Regions from separate parts of the Homo sapiens genome. Here region 2 is linked to region 1. The links are contacts of gene promoters, found by promoter capture Hi-C in blood cells and fetal thymus (Javierre and others, 2016). All regions are on one chromosome and are shown on one strand. The core of a region is centred on a gene start or on the middle of the fragment in contact, and the rest is flanking DNA. Distances in the headings are between cores, read along the strand shown.

Region 1 (7,216 bases), core at 3,449-5,948:
GCTCAAAAGAAATAATGGTACAATGAAATTTATCTTTCTTAAAACACACCCCTGGCTGGGCACAGTGGCTCACGCCTGTAATCTCAGCACTTTGGGAGGCCAAGACAGGTGGATCACCTGAGGTTGGGAGTTCGAGACCAGCCTGACCAACATGGAGAAACCCCGTCTCTACTAAAAATACAAAAATTAACTGGGCGTGGTGGCGTACACCTGTAATCCCAGCTACTCGGGAGGCTGAGGCAACAGAATTGCTTGAACCTGGGAGGCGGAGGTTGTGGTGAGCTGAGATCACACCATTGCACTCCAGCCTGGGCAACAAGAGTGAAACAATGTCTCAAAACAAACAAATAAACAAAAAACACCCCTACTCTAAAACCCTGATCCCTTCTTTTGGAAAGCCTTGCCTGTTTCCATTTCCATTGTTGTAAATAGCCAACACTCGAGGCCTCAGGTATTATCTTACTCTGTGACCAATTTAATTTTACATGTCAAAATATTCCTCCATTGTCAGTAACCCAAAGGAAAATATTTCCTTTTCTTAAAAAAAAAAGAAATACTCTGAACCTACAACAAGATGGATAGCGGCCAGGCACAGTGGCTCGTGCCTGTAATCTGAGCACTTTGGGAGGCCGAGGCGGGTGGATCACCAGAGGTCAGGAGTTTGAGACCAGCCTGATCACCATGGTGAAACCCCGTGTCTACTAAAGATACAACATTAGCCAGGCGTGATGGCGCATGCCTGTAATCCCACTTACTTGGGAGGTTGAGGCAGGAGAATCACTTGAACCCAGGAGGCGGAGGTTGCAGTGAGCTGATAGCGCGCCATTGCGCTCCAGTCTAGGCAACAGGAGCAAAACTCTTGTCTCAAAAAAAAAAAAAAAAAAAAAGATGGATGGCATAACACAACAAACACTGATGCACCCACCACCCAGTCCAAGAAATAAAACACTGCAAAACAACAGTGGAAGCCACAAGGCACCAGCCCCAAGGCAGCCATTCCCAATCACATCCCCCCTCTTCCCATCAGAGGCAACCACCACCTAGAAACCAGAGCTCATCACCCCCTTGCATCTCTTCCCCTCCTGACACAGTATATATCCTTGTGATCTGTAGCACTATTTTACATGATCTTCTTAACCTTTCTATAAATGGTATCATTCTGAACAGAATCAGTCTGTAACTTATTTCTTGCTCAATTTTATGTTTGTGAGAGTAATCCACATTGACACTTATAGCTCTAGTTCCTTTGTTTACTACCACATAATATGCCATTATATGAATATACTACATAGTTGGCCAAAAACACTGCTTGATGTTTCATATGCCATGTAGTGCCTACTACTTTCCGTACCACTATGGAAAATGTGCCAGCCATTTCCATAACATTCTCCAGAATCCTCACAGCCACTAATGAGGAAGGTAAGATTCCCATTGAAGATGAGGAATGAGAAGACCAAAGAGGAACTGGGACGTGGTATAACTTGTCCAGTACATGTGAGCAGCAGGATCCTGCTTCAAGTTCAAGCCCATCCAAGTCTAAAGCCATGCTCCTGACAATATGCCCTGTAACCCATATAGGGCTTTACAGTCATCTGAGAAAAATCTGAAACATGACGCTCTATTTTCTTTGTTAACAAATATCCTACAGGAAATTCACCTGACATGGGGACAGTCCATGTATACACTGAGGAAGAGCCTCTACCTTTGGCAAAGGTCTTCCACCGGGGTCATTCCCATGTTTATACAGGCGCAAAGTAAGCCTGAGTAGGACTGCAACCCTGGCTGGCTTCCTTCGGGGAAACAGGCTGTCTGCACCCACTTACAGACAGGACAGAGGAGCCCGAGAGAACATGGGAATCAGATCCTGCTTGAATTGGCAAAAGCTGAGTCGACAAAGCTCTGAGAACATCTCCGGGGGCAGCTGCAGCTGTTAGCAGCTCTGGGGGTCTGAGGAACAGTCCTGTGCTCATAAGGCCAAGAGCCTGCCTACTCTGCTCTCCGCGTGGCCAGCTTTGAGAGTGCTTTCATACATCCCAGCCCAACCCTGCTGCCCTGGAGAAAGCCGAGCCTGCAGCGCGGAAGAGGAATGAGAGAGAAGGTGGAGGTTCACAGGAGCCAGGCAGGGAGCACAGCCTGGAGAAAGGATACTGGGCTCCAGGCCTGGGCCCAGATCCCTCTATGTGCTCGAAGCAGGTGGACCCCTCGGAGGTGACAGAGTCTAGCCCGCTAAGGACTCCCAAGGAAAGGGGAGGCCTCTCAGCACCAGGACTCCTCACTCTACTCTCCTGCTTCTGCATTATTTTTCCCATTATGTCTCTTCGCTGGAGGATTAAAAGAGCCTCAAAGAGCAAGGCCTAACTGGCTGAAGTGACCCCCTCCCACCTCTCCTGGACAAAACAAGGAGCAAGAAAAGAGGGTCTGCCACTTACTGGCTGTGTGACCTTAGCTGGAGCATCCCTGCCCACTCTCGGAGGAAATGTAGTGGAATATCTCTAAGGGCCCTGCCATTTCTGACTCTTTTTGTCTATAGTGCTAAATGCACTGTGGCTCACGTCTGGAATCCCAGGAAGATGGGTGGGGAGGATGGTTTGAGCCCAGGAGTTCGAGACTAGCCTGAGCAACATAGCGAGACCCCCATCTACACACACACACACACACACACACACACACACACACACACACACACACAAAAACCATTTTTTAAATTAGCCAGGCGTGGGCCTGCACCTGTGGTCCCGGATACTTGGGAGGCTCAGGTGGGAGGCTCAGGTGGGAGGATCACTTGAGCCCAGGCATGAGGCTGCAGTTAGCTGAAATCACACCACTGCACTTCAGTCTGCACAACAGAGCGAGATCCTATGGCAAAAAGAACAAATAAATAAAAATAAAATAAATGTACTAACATTTACTGAGCAGTTTAGAGTATAATTAGTTTAATCTCAACACCCCATGATATAGATACTACTGCTATCTCATTTTAGAGGACGCTGAAGGGCAGAGCGGTTAACTGATGTACCAAGGTCCTAGCAGAGTTCTAAAGGAGGCCCCTGGGGCAGAAGCCTACGGTTATGAATGCTTGGGAGGGCTGCACCGGACATCCACGGGATGCTGGGGGTGAGAAGACACTAGAGAGGGGTCAGAGGGAAGGAGCAGAGGGAGATAATGGGTCAAAGTGTCTGAGGAAGGAGACTGGGCTGGGTAGCCCCAGCCACCCGGGCCTAAGCCCAGGTGGAGGGGAGGAGATAGGAACGAGGACGGGATGTGGAGAAGTGGGGAAAGGCAGGCCGACGTTGGCAGGGTGCGAGGAGGCCTTGGAGAAAGGAGGGTGGATGGGGCAGGCCCCCAGGGGAGGCAAGGAGCGCCGACAGAAGGGCCCAGGCGCTTGCAGGGCGCGAGTTCCCACCTCAAGCACCGTGGCGGCTCCCGCGCTGCGCACCTGGAAGTGCGCAGGCTGCTCCGCCGCCTCGTCGGCGCGCTGGTAGCTGAAGCAGGCTTCTGCTATGTCCAGGTGGCCGAGGGGCAGCGGGTCGTGGGGGTTCTTGAAGTAGCAGAGGCAGCAGCGGCGCCCGTCCAACACGAACCGACGGCTGCGGTAGCCACGCAGTCGCGCTGGTTCCCGCGCGGTACCCGCCCCGGGCTCTGCAGCCTCCCCATCGCCGTCGCTGCCCTCCTCTGCCCGGGTTCCGGCCCCGGTATGGCTGCCTGCGCGCCAACCGTTTGTTCCCCGGCCCCCGCGCCTTCGCGCTGCGGCTGCTGCGCTCCCTGCCCCCGCGGTGCCCCCTTCCCGCCGCCCCGCTCCTCTCTCAGGCGCTCAAAGTGGCCTGGAATTTGTAGAACGCCCCCCTCCAAGCCCGTTGGCAGTTGTCCTAGCCCGCTGGCCCTTGCCCCCGCCCGCTGGCCGTTGCCCCCGCGACGCCCCGGAAGCCAGGTCCTGCCTCCCGCACCTGCCAAGTCCCCGCCCTGCCGGAGTCTCGCTCTGTCGCCCAGGCTGGAGTGTAGTGGAGCCATCTCGGCTCACTGCAACCTCCGCCTCCCCGGTTCAAGCAATTCTCCCGCCTCAGCCTCCCGAGTACTTGGGATTACAGGCGCCCGCCACCTCGCCCGGCTACTTTTTGTATTTTTAATAGAGACGGGGTTTCGCCGTGTTGGTCAGGCTGGTCTCAAGCTCCTGACCTCAAGTGATCTGCTTGCCTTGGTCTCCTAAAGTGCTGGGATTACAGGCGTGAGCCACCGCGTCCGGCCCAAAAGCCTTTTTTGGATGAGAAAGACTCACTCAGCTTCGTCCTGAAGAGCAAGTGGGCTGGGGAAGAGGAGAGTATGAATGTGAGTCCAAGAGCAAGTTTTGCACTTTTTTCTTCAAAGAATGTCACCGTCTGAAGAATGCGATTGGAAGACACACACACACACACACACACACACACACACGCAGCCGGTTCTCTACAGGATTAGAAAAAACTTGCGCGAATTAATCTGCGTAGTTAAAAACAAATACGAAATGAGCGAGAAAGCACATAGTAGTCAAATCTCGCCACCACATAAACAGGTTAAGTTTGGAAGCACAGCCCCTAACATTCGGTGCTGCTTAGCATCTCCGACTTCCGGCGTCCTCCGTTGCTAAGGTGACCAGAGGCGCGTCCTAACGCTCCGCCCAACAAACCATAGAGTACCGGAAAAAGCTCGAGCAGAGGGGTCGGAAAGGGAAAACAACTACGGCTGCGGTGTGGTTGGTGGTGAGATGACGACCTTAGTGCTGGATAATGGAGCTTACAACGCCAAAATCGGTTACAGCCATGAAAATGTGTCGTAAGTACTTTCTTTCTCCGAGGGACAAGATATATACGCCTAGTGGTTTCATGTGCTACGTTTCATCTCCGGACATCAATGAACTGCAGACACCCCCGCGCGGCCCTGACTTAGCCAGAGGGATTCCCTGGTTGGAGCTGGGTGGGTGATTGTGATGCTTTGAATTGAAATTGATTTTGGTTTTAGTTTTGGGCTGCGAGGCCCCGGAAGTGGGATATATGTTTTATTTCGTAACAGGAAATAGCCAAAGAAAATAGGCTTATAGAGATGCGTTCCTGACAGAAGGGTCCGTAAAGTTCATCAGCCTTTGGAAACTATGGGCACGGTGTTTGGGTGTATGCGGATTTTCCTGGGTACAAGATTATAGGTTTCATTAGATTCTCAAAGGGTTCTATGACCCTCCAAAAGTCTAAAAATCACGGTCTTAGGATCTAGAGGCTTTGAAGACTTTGGCCTACTGGCCGACCTAGTTGGTAAGGTCAATTAAACAGAAGTACTGTTAATACAATGGCATTCATAACATGTATAGTCATAAAATATATGTTTGAATAAATAAGCAAACCTAAAGACACGCCTTTCCTTTATCAAATTAACAGAGCATTAAAAAAAATTCTTTCCTTCCTCCCTCCTTTCCTTCTTTTTCATTTCTTTTGAAACAGAAATGAAAGAGGGAAATCAAACTGAGTAGGAATGTAAATTGTTACAATCTTTCTGGAAAACGTTTTGGCAATGTGTATCATTATCATTGTCACCGAGGCTGGAGTGCCGTGGTGCGATCTCAGCTCACTGCAGCCTGAATTCAAGTGATTCTCCCGCCTCAGCCTCCAGAGTAGCTGGGATTATAGGCGTGCACCACCACTCCCAGCGAATTTTTTGTATTTTTGTTAGAGACGGGGTTTCATCATGTTGGCCAGGCCGGTCTCGAGCCCCTGGCCTCAAGCAGTCTACCCGCGTTGGCCTCCCAAAGTGCTGGTATTAGGGGCGTGAGCCCTACACCCAGCTGACAAAGCAATTTTTTTTTTTTTTTTTGGAGAGGGAGTCTGGCTCTCTTGTCCAGGCTGGAGTGCAGTGGCACGATCTCGGCTCGCTGCAACCTCTGCCTCCCGGGTTCAAGCCATTCTCATGCCTCAGCCTCCCAAGTAGCTGGGACTACAGTTGCGCACCACCACGCCTGGCTAAGTTTTGTATTTTTAGTAGAGACGGGGGTTTCACCATTTTGGCCATGCTGGTCTGGAATTCCTGACCTCGTGATCTGCCTGCTTCAGCCTCCTAAAGTGCTGGGATTACAGGTGTGAGCCACCGCACCGGGCCATGACACAGCAATTCTGTTATTACCTAGAGAATTAATTAGAAGTGCTTTGTATTATTCATAGTCATCGTATACAGGCAGCCAAAAAATGGGAAGGAAGCTAAATAATCAGGAATAGCATATTGGCTAAATACACCAAAATACAACCTGAGACTGATAACAAATTCAAGCTTCTTAAAATTATGTCTTCAAAGAACATTTAAACATGTAGAGAAAATGCTGACAGTATTATAAGTGAAATAAGCAGGTGTAAAACATTTTTTTACAGTATTATCCCAGTGTCATCTCGTATACACATACAGACACATTTGTATGCATACATGTGTGTATAATTAATAATGGCTCTAGTTTGTCTTCCAAACCAGATTGTAAGCTCATGGCAAGCAGCAAGAGGCCCAGGTGGGTGGATCACGAGGTTAGGAGATCCAGAGCATCATGGCTAACACGGCGAAACCCTGTCTCTACTAAAAATACAAAAATTAGCCGGGCGTAGTGGCAGGCGCCTGTAGTCCCAGCTACCTGGGAGGCTGAGGCGGGAGAATGGCGTGGGCCTGGGAGGCGGAGCTTGCAGTGAGCCGAGATCACGCCACTGCACTCCAGCCTGGGGCGACAAAGCGAGACTCGGTCTCAAAAAAAAAAAAAAAAAGTTGCTACTTCTGTACCCTGTAGCAGCAGCAGTCTCCAACCTTTTTGGCACCAAGGACTGGTTTCGTGGAAGACAATTTTAACGTGTGGTTGGGGGTATGAGTGTGGGCGATGGTTTTGAAATGAAACTATTCTCAGGTATTAGATTCTCACAAAAAAAGTGCACAAACTATATCCCTTGCATGCACAGTTCAAAATAGGGTTCCTGCTCCTATGAGAATCTAATGCTATGGCTGATCTGACAGGAAGTGCAATTTAGGTGTTAATGCTTACGGCCCCACCCTCCTTCCCCACCCTGGTGCTCACCTCTTGCTATGAAGGCTTGGTTCCCAACAGACCACAGACAGGTACCGGACCACAAGCCCTGCGGTTGGGGATCCCTGCCCTATAGCATCTTGCTGATTGAAGATCTTTGGCTTCATGGGAACTTAATTTATTTTATTTTTTTGAGACAGAGTC
Region 2 (7,216 bases), core at 2,031-4,530, about 20 Mb before region 1:
ACTTTGCCTTGTATGACCACACGCGCACACACATAGGATTTGTAATACTGATGTCTTATGAGCCATCTATCTACAATCTCCACCAATTGATTTTACTGAACACTGCATTGTTACCATCCACTACTATTTTTAGAGCATTTAGAAAAGCCAAGATAAAAACCACAAAACCTTACCATGGAAGTTTAGGGGTCATCTAGACAGAGTCCCTCAAGAACTAATTAATTTACTTAATTTTACCCAGAAGTAGGATTAGAATTCACTCAGCAAATACTATGCACCTGTTCTGGGTCAGGCATTGTTCTAGGTGCTGGAGATAGAGCAGTGAACAAATAAGCTTTTCTTACTCTCAGCATGATGCCTTTTCCAGTGGACTACTTCACAGCCTATCATATTGAGAAATAAAATAATTGAGTAAAACGTGATTAGGAAACTGTCTGCCTGTGAGACAATTTTCTGAACCACAGTTATTAGGATAGCGATAGAATCCAGGTCAGGGTAAAAATATTTCCTCTGAAAACGTTGTAGGAATAGAAAATGAATGTAATATTCATAAGATATACCATTGTATGTTCATTACATACATTAAAGATAACATCAGACCTTTGAATACTCATGGTGTTAGGTACTGAAAAACATTGTTAGCACTAAAATACAAAATCCCTATCCACAGAATACAGCTCTCAGAATAAAAGAAAGGAACTTGAGGATTGCCTTGTCAGCTCCTGTCTCTACCTAGGCAACTGACAGCATATCCTGTTTTCCAAGAACGTTATGGCCTATGTGGTAGCTCTTAAAGTGCCCTTGCAGTATAGATGGGAATCTGAAGATTTCATTCAGGCAAAAGGAATTTAGTGGGAAGTATGCTATTCCTGATTCAAGCACTTATTTCAGGATGCAAAATTAATAATAGTTTATTAATAAAACATAATTAAGTTCATTCAGTTCCCAGAAGCTGTCAGGGAAAAAACAACCAAGGAGGGCTGCTATCATGTGCAAATTTCACTGAATTTAGTTTTTCTTCTTTCGTGGCTCTAAGGGTCAAGATGCTCTATGTTAATATTGAAAGTACTCTGAAACTGCCACCTACTTTGTCTTTAGGGAGGATTTTTTTTAAATTGTTGTTAGTGAATTAATGGTACTGAAGACCTTGGGTTAATTCTAGAACAAGCAAAATTTTTTATTGACACACACAGTCCCAGCACAGTGGCTCACACCTGTAATCCTATCACTTTGAGAGGCTGAGGCGAACTCTGCCCAGGAGTTCGAGGCTGCAGTGAGCTCTCTGCACTACAACCTGAGCGACAGAGCTAGACCCTATCTTTACCAAAAAAAAAAAAAAAAGACACACACACACACACACATGCTTTTATTACATATTTGTCTAAGCAGAACAAATGGAAAAAATGCAAATATTTTCACTTCCTAATGGCTTCTAAACAGATTGGGATGTGAGGATACATTTTAGCTCCTTTAAAGCAAATTAAGCCTTAAAATAGAAGTACAAATAAAACTATACTTACTAATTTGCATATATGTATATATAAAAATATATTTTTGGCTGCACCAAATCAATCATATTGGAGGTTTTTGTTTCTGAGACAGGGTCTCACTCTATCGCTCAGGCTGCAGTGCAGAGGCATGATCTCAGCCTCCCAAGTAGCTGAGACTACAGGCGCGTGCACCACCAGGCTTAGCTAATTTATTTTTTAAGTTTTGTAAAGATGGGGTCTACCTATGTTGTCCAGGCTGGTCTCAAACTCCTGGGCTCAAGTGATCCTCTGCCTTGGCTTCTTAAAGTGTTGGGATTACAGGCTTGAGCCACTGTACCTGGCTGGGGGTTTTATTTATTACATGCACAAGATTGTCAGAATGAGATCTGTGTATATCTTTTTCAAAGTTTAATCACACTACTGACATTCCTTACCATTAATTTGCTTGCTAATTATGATCAACTTAATTTAAATTATAAACATATTTGAAATGCTGACATGCACAGCTTAGATTTGTTTCTGCTATTATAATCTCTTTGTTAAAAATGTACATAAGATATTAATAAATACTTTGATATATCTATGTTCTCTTTATCCCTAATTTAAACCTGAGATACTAATTTACATTTATACACTTGAGAATAGAACAGTCAACAAGGACCTTGTTTCTGTCTCCTGTATTCTACACCTGGGCCAAACTCTCTTCCATTGCATAATAATTTCTTTCCAATGTTTTATTTAAGAACCTGAAGAAAAGGCTGGGCACGGTGGCTCATGCCTGTAATCCCAGGGCTTTGGGAGGCCCACGTGGGCAGATCACCTGAGGTTAGTAGTTCGAGACCAGCCTGGCCAACATGGCAAAACCCCCGTCTCTACTAAAAATACAAAAATTAGCTGGGCGTGGTGGCACGTGCCTGTAATCTCAGCTACTCGGGAGGCTGAACCCGAGAATACATGAGAATTACTTGAACCAGAAGGCGGAGGTTGCAGTGAGCCAAGATTGTGCCACTGCATTCCAGCCTGGGTGACAGAGCAAGACTCTGTCTCAAAAAGAAAAAAAAAAAGAACTTGAAGAAAAGTTTACAATCCATTCACATCATAATTTATTTAGTCCTACCCAGGGAGTTGACCAGAACCAACATGGAACCACCCTAACTTGCTTCAGACTCCATTGCTAGATCAATCCTGATTTCTAGATCATAGCATCTAATCTTTGCCTTGCCTCTGGATTACAAGGTGAGTTTCTAATTTACTTTAGGGTAAATTTTCTGCCACATCTGACTCCATTTCAAGAAACTAACCCTATCACAGTACAAGTACTGGCTAATATGCTCATAAAGCTTCTTTTGTTCCCCAAAACTAGGACTCAGATGAGTGTCTGGCAACAATCCAAAGTGCAGTTATACTGCTAAAGAGATAACTCACCTCCATTGCACATGACTCCCAACCTGTATCATGTGACAGAACATCACATGCCCCTTTCATATGAATTAATGTTTCCCAAACTTTATCAGTTTTATTGCCAAATTCAAGAACCGCAAATACTAGTATTTGCTTAATGTTTTCTTTAACCTTTTTAAGACAAATTTATTTTAAAGCAACATTATGTTGCTTTGGTAAGTGAAAAACGTTTCCACTTGACATAAAGAAGACTGTTAAAGCAAATACAATGAAAACAAAACATTAGTTAGGTTGTCTGTCAAGGGTCTGAGCCCAAGCTGTGCTCTCAATTTGTTAAAAAAGGGATATTGGTAAGGGTTGGACATGTGAGCATCAACCTAAGATTTTTCAGTTTAGCATAATCGGAAAGATTAAAAGGTAGTGAAAAAAGAATATTGTGCTAAGTGCTTCACTGTTGTTTTAATGTTACATCTACCTTATAACATTACCTCATGTACCACCAGTCTACATGTCCTACACTTTAGGAAACTGACTGACTTTAATTAGTATGTGTAATAATAATTACGATTAATTAAGTGAAGGTTATAGGATAGGCCTTAGTGGCACCCCCAACTCAAGGTGTCAAGGCAAGGCATTGGCAGGAAGGCCAATTTGTATGAAAATATCTGTGTGCTGAAGGAATTTCAGAAATAAGAGTCATTCTCCATGGCACTGAAATTAGAAGAATAAATTACAAGATCAATATCTGGAAGGCAAGTTTAGGTGCATGAGTTCTATCTTGGATCACTAATATTTAGTTGAGGGATCCATTCAATTGTCCTTCAAATCAAATCCTAGGAAAAGCTTTAAAATTCCTTCACAGACCAGAGTGCAAAAACAAGGTATTCATGAGAACCAAAACATGCTGACCGTGCTCAATTTTGACAGGTGGGAATATCAACTTCATGTGGTTGTCTTAAAGATTAAATGAATAATGTATGTGAGAGAGAAAAAAATTTGAGATTTTATTTGTGTTCTTGTATTTGCCTTTTCCTTCCCTTATTTAAGCTGATAGCAACTCTGCTTCCTTGCCTCAGGACAGGTTTGTGGCAAGGAAGAAAGCAGAAGTTGCTTTCAAAACATTTTCCCTCCTACTTGAAATGTCCACCCACCAATTTCTATTTAATAAGAATTTAGGGCTAGTGATCTGATTGGAATTAGTATATGAGGTTGCTAGAAACTTATTTAAGTTCTATTTGCATAGCATTATAAATCAATAAAAATAGCACTGTTTTCTAAATTTGCCTTTATTTTCACTTTACAAAAATTTTCACCATAACTCCATGGAATGTTATTTTTACTTAGGGTGGAACCAAGCAGAGGGGTTCACCCAAGCCATCTTTGGGTGCTTCCATGGGAAAGAAGGATTTCACTGAGAATAATAAGTGACACCAAGGCTCAAAAGAATGAGAGAGAAGTCTGTTGGTCTCTTGAACAGCAGGGATTTGCTCACAGATCTCTGGAAGTAGCCAGAATGTGACAGGATCTCAAAATGAATGGCTGCTTCATGGAGGCTGGAACATAAGCCTGGGACTCCCAGTAGCCAAACATAGCTGTGCCACAAACATGGCTGAAATGTAGCAGTTTGGTGGATCCGAGGTCAGTCATTGAAAATGTATTGATTGGCACCTATTCTTTGTGAATCATTATTCTGGGTTCTGGGGTCACAGGAGCAAATGAAACAAATGAAGTACCTGCCATCAATGAGCTTACATTCTAGTAAAGAGGGACAGAAAATGAATACATTTTAAATGAATAAATTCAGATACCGCTAAATGTAGTGAAGAAAAAAATTGGGCTAAAGAGAGCGAAAAACAATTTCTGAAGTTACTAGCAGTGAAGGGTGGGGGAAGAGAAGAGACGGATTTAACCAGGAAAGATCTGAGCTGAGGGTGTATCCAGGTTTTCTGGAACCTGATATTATTACAGTTTAGAGATTCTTCTTCAAGAAAAAGAATTTAAAATTACAAATAATTAACTTCAGGGCCTTGGAAGGGGTCCACTCAAGTGAACAGAAAATTATGTGCTCCTTATAAAATATATGATTTAAAACTACAACAGTGGCTGGCCGTGGTGGCTCATGCCTGTAATCCCAGCACTTTGGGAGGCTGAGGCAGGTGGATCGCGAAGTAAAGAGATCGAGACCAACCTGGCCAACAATGGTGAAACCCCGTCTCTACTAAAAATACAAAAATTAGCTGGGCGTGGTGGCATGTGCCTGGTGTCCCAGCTACTTGGGAGGCAGAGGCAGGAGAATCGCTTGAACCTGGGAGGTGGAGGTTGCAGTGAGCCGAGATTGTGCCACTGCACTCCAGCCTGGCGACAGAGTGAGACGTCTCAAAAAAAAAAAAAAAAAAAAACTATAACAGTAATTGAGTGTATAAACACTCAATTTGTTTCCTCAGCTAGATCTAGAACCAAGGATTCTAGAAAATATGTGTCAAAACCCAGCTCTCAGTTTTGTTAGCTATCACTTAACATCAGTTTAAATCATTCATTTATTCACCATTCATTAAGCCGGTATTTATGAGTACCCTATTGGTACTCTGTATGTACTAGTGCTAAAACTATAACAATGTAAACACTCATTCCCTGCAATCAACAATATATACTGGCCAAAGATTCAATTCCATGATCAAGCATAGCAGCATTAATAGTAGAGCAACCTCCATTATGTGCCTAAGCATTACCTAAATTTTAGCCTGAGTTTAACCAGGTGTTTTAGATCAAATATCACTTTACTAGAAACATGGGAGATAGAAGAACATATTAAATGATACCACACATACTTAATCAAACAAACCTGAAATGTAGGATAATCTCTAGGGCACTGGCCTGGTTTCTTTTAAAAAGTCAGTGTTATAAAAAATTTTAAATAAAAATGTTCTAGATTAAAAGATACTGAAAATCATAATGACTAATTAAGCTTGTAAACTTTGATTAAGTTCCGGTTTGGAAAAAAGTTGTATGTAATTGATTATTGGAAAAATTGAATATGGATTGTGTTTTAGATGATATTAAGGAATTTTTGTTATTTCTGTTCTAAGATGTAATAATGTGATTATGTAGGAATGTATCCTTAATTTAAGGAGATGAGTATGTTAAATATGATGTTGCAACTTCCTTTCAAATGATTTCATGAAATAAAAAATAAATACATACAAATGCATGTAAGTAGACAGTGCAAGTTTGGCAAGATTTTAATTTCTGAACTTAGGTAACAGGTATCCAAGTGTCTGTTACTATTTTTTCAGCTTTGCTGTTTGATATTTTTTACAATGAAATATTGAGGGAGAAAAAGAATGGATTGTGGGGAGACTGTGTTGTGATTCTCTAATAGAGTCAATGCCATTACTCCAGAGATATTTGGACATGTGGGTGAGGTGTTTTTGATTATCAAAATGATTGTGGAACACTACTGTCGTTTAGTGAGGAAGTGAGTAATAAATAACTTGTGATGTGTGGGAATTTTCCAAACAACAACTAAGTACCCTTCCCAAAATGCTAATAACTCCCCTGTTGAGAAATACTAAAATTAAACCAATAAATAGCTCACACAAAAAATATTCCATTGACCTTATATACAACTCTAATGTTTGTTCTCCAATTCACAAAAAAGTACTCCTGATAAAGAGTCATTTATATTCATGGCTTCCATATCCATGTTTTCTTTCTTTTTTTTTATTATACTTTTAAGTTCTAGGGTACACGTGCACAACGTGCAGGTTTGTTACATAGGTATACATGTGCCATGTTGGTTTGCTGCACCCATCAACTCAGCATTTACATTAGGTATTTCTCCTAATGCTATCCCTCCCCCAGTCCCCCAACCCCCAACAGGCCCCAGTGTGTGATGTTCCCTGCCCTGTGTCCAAGTGTTCTTATTGTTCAATTCCCACCTATGAGTGAGAACATGTGGTGTTTGGTTTTCTGTCCTTGTGATAGTTTGCTGAGAATGATGGTTTCCAGCTTCATCCATGTCCCTGCATCCTTTTTTATGGCTGCATAGTATTCCATGGTGTATATATGCCACATTTTCTTAATCCAGTCTATCACTGATGGACATTTGGGTTGGTTCTAAGTCTTTGCTATTGTGAATAGTGCCACAATAAACATACGTGTGCATGTGTCTTTATAGTAGCATGATTTATAATCCTTTGGGTGTATACCCAGTAATGGGATCGCTGGGTCAAATGCTATTTCTAGTTCTAGATCCTTGAGGAATCACCACACTGTCTTCCGCAATGGCTGAACTAATTTACACTCCCACCAACAGTGTAAAAGCG

What was found. Contacts are between HindIII fragments. The CHiCAGO score rates a contact against its expected background, and 5 or more counts as called.
Region 2: a fragment that was not itself captured here is called in contact with the fragment with the promoter of ACTR6 in region 1 in 1 of 17 cell types (non-activated CD4 T cells); the score reaches 5.3 in non-activated CD4 T cells.

Annotation. Positions count from the first base shown.
Region 1 is chr12:100,196,117-100,203,332 of GRCh38, forward strand. ACTR6 (actin related protein 6) reads left to right here and starts at 4,699. Exons shown (of 11, transcript NM_022496.5): 1 at 4,699-4,803. The coding sequence starts at 4,736. RefSeq lists a silencer at 3,643-4,002 and enhancers at 4,495-4,789, 4,763-4,962, 5,807-6,494, 6,495-7,180, 6,812-6,871. The HindIII fragment of the contact is 11,223 bases long and covers 1-6,280 here.
Region 2 is chr12:79,936,127-79,943,342 of GRCh38, forward strand. PPP1R12A-AS1 (PPP1R12A antisense RNA 1) reads left to right here. Exons shown (of 2, transcript NR_146535.1): 2 at 4,236-5,269. Among named protein-coding and RNA genes, the nearest start is that of PPP1R12A-AS1, 4.5 kb to the left of the region's middle. The HindIII fragment of the contact is 904 bases long and covers 2,829-3,732 here.